Linked DNA regions of Homo sapiens: region 1 is linked to region 2. The links are contacts of gene promoters, found by promoter capture Hi-C in human tissues and cell types (Jung and others, 2019). All regions are on one chromosome and are shown on one strand. The core of a region is centred on a gene start or on the middle of the fragment in contact, and the rest is flanking DNA. Distances in the headings are between cores, read along the strand shown. Region 1 overlaps MORC4 (MORC family CW-type zinc finger 4). Region 2 holds the start of RIPPLY1 (ripply transcriptional repressor 1).

What was found. Contacts are between HindIII fragments. The study calls those that stand out against the background at their distance.
Region 1: a contact is called between a fragment that was not itself captured here and the fragment with the promoter of RIPPLY1 in region 2, in 1 of the 25 tissues and cell types used here (adrenal gland).

What each region holds. Positions count from the first base shown.
Region 1 is chrX:106,950,761-106,953,494 of GRCh38, reverse strand. All of the region lies in intron 14 of MORC4 (MORC family CW-type zinc finger 4), which reads left to right. Among named protein-coding and RNA genes, the nearest start is that of CLDN2, 32 kb to the right of the region's middle. The HindIII fragment of the contact is 4,923 bases long and covers 1-2,734 here.
Region 2 is chrX:106,901,768-106,904,841 of GRCh38, reverse strand. It overlaps RIPPLY1 (ripply transcriptional repressor 1), which reads left to right and starts at 1,501. Exons shown (of 4, transcript NM_138382.3): 1 at 1,501-1,709; 2 at 2,627-2,702. The coding sequence starts at 1,555. It also overlaps a transcript of CLDN2 not described here. The HindIII fragment of the contact is 3,191 bases long and covers 1-2,705 here.

The sequences.
Region 1 (2,734 bases), core at 41-2,540, 49 kb before region 2:
TTCCATGCATACTTTTCCAACTCCCATTTTAGGTTGGGAGGGGTGCACTGTAAATGCTAAGTGTTTTTGAAGCACATTGTTACCTTTTTACCCTGGTCTCCTGGAGATGCTCATATATCACCATTGCTGCTGGAGTGTCAGGTGTCTTTGCTTTTGAAGACTGTCCCTTCCTTACTATGACCACTTTTCCTTTTTTTCCAGTGTTTCTTTTATAACCCTGTAGTGGTTTTTGGTAACCTCAAGGGGATTACAAATGCTAATTTATATACTTATTTTATGAATGCAGTACAATAGAACTTCCATTGGGTGGCATACTTCATCAGTCTCTATTGGAATTTTTGTATGAGTCTTTATGGATTGCTATATCGAGAGTGAGGTTTTGGCTGTAGAGGACAGGTAAAGTACATTGACCATTCATATGTAATTTTAATTTATTGAGAATAAAATTATTTCAAGAGAAAGAGAAACATAAGAGGTATGTGATAGTTGCTGTTGCTAATGTCATATATGTTACATAAGATCAGTAAATGATGATTGTGTCATTTCAAGTTACACTTTTCGAGGGAATCACATTGATTGGGCTGAGACTACCTTTTAATGGGGGAAAATGGAGTTACTCAAGAGTCTAGTAAAATATATAGGATTTCTGATAAAACATTAAGGTTTAATCAAGAGTTACAAAGGTCTTCTGTTATTATCAGCATAGGAAGCTGATAAGGGTCCTTGGGTCATGTAGTTCAGCTTACTAACTCCAGATAAAATAAAGCCTACAGTATCCAAGAAAACTTTTAAGTTCTAGTGGGTAGTTTAGCAGGGGCGCCACAGGTGTCACTGGAAACAGCTTTGTGAGTCCCACAAATCTAGCAAGGGGAGGAGAGGACCTGCAATAAAGAATAGGTTCCACCAGTATGTAAGCAGGTATAACCTTTTTGGGGAAGACAGCTTATTTCTGTTAAAGGAAATAATCCCTTTCTATTTGTTCATCCTACATGTATAATCGTGCCGCATAATGACATCTTGGTCAATAACAGAACACATACACAACAGTTATCCCATAAACTTACAATACTGTATTTTTACTGTACCTTTTGTATATTTAGATATATTTGATATGCAAATACTTACCATTTTGTTACAGTTGCCTATAGTATTCACTACAGTCACATGCTGTACAGGTTTATAGCCTAGGAGCAATAGGCTATTGCCTAGGTGTATAGTAGGCTATACCATCTGGGTTTGTGTAAGGATACTCTATGATGTTTGCACGATGAGGAAATTGTCTAACAATGGATTTCTCAGAGCGTATGCCCATCATTAAGTAATGCACGACTGTATTTGAGTGCCTACTTTATGAAAGGCCCTGTTCTAGGGTAGTGACAAGATCAAAGATGAAGGAGGTTTGAGTAGTCAAAATTTGATATGTAAGTATCCCCAATATTTACATATAAAGTGCATATAGTTTTCTTTCCTTTTTTTTTTTTTTTTTTTTTTTTTTTTTTGCGGCAGAGTCTCGCTCTGTCACCCAGGCTGGAGTGCAGTGGCGCAATCTCGGCTCACTGCAACCTCCACCTCCCGAGTTCAAGCGATTATCCTGCCTCAGCCTCCTGAGTAGCTGGGATTACAGGCGCGTGCCACCACGCCCGGCTAATTTTTGTATTTTTAGTAGAGACAGGGTTTCACCATGTTGGTCAGGCTGGTTTCAAACTCCTGACCTCGTGATCCACCCGCCTTGGCCTCCCAAAGTGCTGGGATTACAGGTGTGAGCCACTGCGCCTGGCTAAATATGTATAGTTCTCTTATGAGTGATACAAAATAAGATTTAAAGTGGCCGGGTGCAGTACCTCACGCCTCTTATACCAGCACTTGGGAGGCTGAGACAGGAGGGTTGCTTGAGCCCAGGAGTTCGAGACTAGCCTGGGCAACACAGTGAGACCTCTTCTCTACAAATAATAAAAAATTAGCCAGGTGTGGTGACGTGCGCCTGTGGTCCCAGCTACTCTGGAGGCTGAGGTGGGAGGATCGCTTGAGCATAGGCTGCAGTGAGCCAGCTGTGATTGCGCAACTGTGCTCTAGTCTGGGCAACAGAGCAAGACCCTGTCTCAAAAAAAAAGAAAGATCTAAAGTAACCGTAAGCATTTGAATGAAGGCAAGAATTAGTGGCTGTAATTTATTTAGATATTTAGATTTGAGTAAGCTATATGTCAAAGGCTAATTAGTTCATATTTTTAAAGGTTAACAAATTCTGAATTGCACTGTTAACAGTGGAGGGAGAGAAGTAGAGACATTCTACTGTGTCTAAAGGAATACTTGAAATAACAAACAAGGGGTAGAAATAGATGAACAATTTTGCAAATGAATAAGATTGATTCAGGGGCCAGTATTAACATTTAAAAATATGATCTAGGGAAGCAACTTCCAGAATGGAGAAATGAGGAGCATAGTGGACTCTGTCACCAATAAATAACTGTTTAACTTGAAAAAATATATTTAAAAAAAATCAGTGTTTCTGGATAGTGTCCTAGGGGCACACAGCAAAGGGAGAAATATTCAAGAAATCTTCTAAATCTCAGGAAGAACAGCAAGAGTCAGTGGCATTTGAACCACAAGCTGTCCCACTCCAAGCTCTATTTTATGAAAACTACTCAAAGGAATTCTAATCCATGTGGGTGTGGTCTAGAAGATGGGGGCTCCCTCATCCCCTAGCTCATTGTCTAGAGCTATGGTTTTACCTGGG
Region 2 (3,074 bases), core at 252-2,751:
AGTAATATTTTAGAGACTTATTTTGTTTTCACTCTTTCAATATGTTAACTTTTCCCTCATTCTTCTACCATGCCAATTTTAATATGAAATTGTGTAACTGCCCAATGATTTATCTAACCAGCTTTTAAAAGTTGTTTTCAATTTTCCTTTGCTGAAAAGAACATAGTGGGACTAGAATTGGAAGTGGGGTGAAGATGGGGGGTAGGTGAACAGAGAAATGAGGAGCCCTTAAATTAGTCATGCTATCTTACCATCTGATTTTTTTTTCCATTTTCTGTGTTGAAAAATTATACTTCCCAGAACATGATTGTGAGCACCTGCTTGGCATTCAGTTGCAAGGATTTGCCCTAATTAATGTAACTGGTTTCCTATTATTGGACATTGAAGTTGTTTCTAATTTTTGACCATTACAAACCAGACTGTGATGAACATCCAAGAAGCTAAATCTGTGCTGGGGCTGGACACTGAGGTCAGGAGGAATATTTTCGAGACCTCTGAAGCATAAGGTCCCTGCCAGTAGTTGTAACTAGAAGCTTTCTGGCAAAGGCCCAGAAGGCTGGCTAAGGCCGAGGACTGTGCTCAGGCCTCTGGGCTTGCCCGGGTTCAGTACCCATTTATGTAGCCCCTGTCAGAGAGTGTTCAGGCTGGCATGGTCCTATGAGACCACTGGGCCAGCACCCTCATCTCTTACATGAGGGAACTGAGGCCTGGGGCTGGGGCTGGTCCTTCGGCAGCTCTGTAGTCGGGCAGAACTTTGCCTCTCCCCAGCACCCTGGCTTCTGAACTGGAAGCTAAGCTCTGAGGTTTGGAATCTCACCCAGAGGCCCTGTGAAATCCTGCCTGCTCTCCTTCACTGGACCACTTACTGCTGAGGCTGGAGGGGGCACTTTGACAAATGAACTGATCAGTAAGGGGCTGAGGGGCATTGAAAGAAGACTTAAGGTTTACCCAACAAGCATCTGGGCCTGCTCTGCCCAGAATGCCCCTTTTTTCCCTAACCCAGATGATATGCTTAATGGCAGTCACCCTACATTCAGGTCCACCTGGCAAATCTATCTGAGGTTGAGCTGAAATAACAAGTGAGTCCCTCACTCTCCTTAAAGGGGTCAGCTGTCTCTTCTTGCCAGGAACTGGCTTAGTTAAAGGCCTGTCTATTCAGCCCTCTGTCCCTGACATCTCTGTGGTTTCAGAGTGCTAATGAGCTCCTCTCCTTCCCCTCTCAGGCCTTGCTACTCCCTGGGGAATTCACACAAATGGTGTGCGATTTGCCCCTTCTGTGTTTTTCTTTCTGACTTGGAGGCAAAGCAAATCCCTCACCTCCCACTGACACCATGTTTATTCAACTGGGAGAGATTTCACACCCAGGTAACCCAGCTTTCCCTCCCTGAGCCCCTTCCCTAAATCTTTATCCCCCTCCCAAGTCATCCCACCCCTGTCCTCCCTGAATAATTTATAAGACCAGGCAGGGCTTATAAAAGGGTCTCCCAGGAAAAGCCAAAAGAGTGCAGAAGGTTCTGGGAAGTAGGAGACCCCACTGGCTTTGGTCCCCTAAGAATGGACTCTGCTGCCTGTGCTGCTGCTGCCACCCCTGTTCCAGCCCTGGCTTTGGCCCTAGCTCCAGACCTAGCACAAGCCCCACTGGCACTCCCTGGCCTGTTAAGCCCATCTTGCCTTCTCTCCTCTGGACAAGAAGTAAATGGGAGTGAAAGGTAAGTTGAGCTTAGCCTTTGGCAACCTGAACTTAGGCTTGAGAGCTTCCTGAGAGAGGAAGGAAAATGAGATGTCCAGGGCACCCTGTTCTCTGTGAAGGGGAAAAGCAATGGCCTCATAGCCCTCCCTCCTCAACTCTAGCTGGAATATCTCATCTGACTTTTCACCTCACTAATCCCGCTGGGTGGCAAGAGGGGACTTGGGGACAGCTGTTGCCAAAGCTGAAGGTGAAGCAGCCAGGTCCTCATAGGCCAGGTGGCTGAGTCCCCTGAGGGGGATGGGGAACTGCCATGAAACCTGGGCTTAACACAATCTAGACTGTGGGGGTGGGGAGTTTGGGGAAAGAGGACCAAAGTCTAAAGAGGCCCTTGACTGGGACATTGTCTTTTTCCTGACCACGCCATAAGATTTCCATTTGCTTTTTTCCTACCTCTGCAAGTCCAGTGGGGAAGCAGTGGACCCAGGAACATTTCTGGCCCTCTTCTTCAGCCCAGGAAGATGGTAGAGCTCTGAGTTCTACATCTTGGAGCAGGAAGTAGGAGGCAAGATATTTTCCATCTAGCCCCCACTCATTACTCCAAACATTTAGTCTTCAACAAACATTTACTGAAACAGCTACTGTGTACCAGACATTGTACTAGGTGTTGAGGATTCAGATACGATTGAGCATATCTTTGAGCTTAAGAAGCCCAAAGACAAGTAAATAGACAATTACAAAACAGCATGATAAAAGCAATAATAACATTGCTGAAGCCGAGAGGAGGGACATCTGTCCTGGAATGGGCTCAGGAGCCTTAGGAAAGGCTTCCTGGAGCAGATGGCACCTGAGCCAAGCTTTTGGGAGGTCTCTTGTTATCTCAGGGAGCCCACCTTTCAGTCTCTTCCTCTACGGATTGATCTCTCCTCTTTGTCCCAGAGGAACTTGTCTCTGGAGGCCCTGGCTGTCTTCCACAAATGACTCCCCAAGGCAGATGAGGAAGCTGGTGGATTTGGTGAGTTCGAGCCCTTGTGACGTGTGTTCACATGCAGCCACATGCATTAACAGTGACCAGGTCACTTCCCAGAGAGCCCCTGACCTCAGTCCAAAGGTGCAGATCTGAGATAGCATCCTCACAGTTTTGCCAACATTTGATTCCAACAGAGAGCAGATCCAAGCTTTCTGTGGCAATTGGAAAGATGAGGAGACCAAAGCTCAGAGTGGGCAAGGGATCTGGGCAGGCCCCACAGCCAGTGTGTGGCAGTGCTGGTGCTTGAGGCCTCGTCTCCTGGCACCTTACTCCAGTGCTCTCCCACCCACCCGATCTCCCTGAATCTTTGCTGCTCCAGTAGAACACTGTCCCCTGGAGAGCCTCCAAACAGGTGCT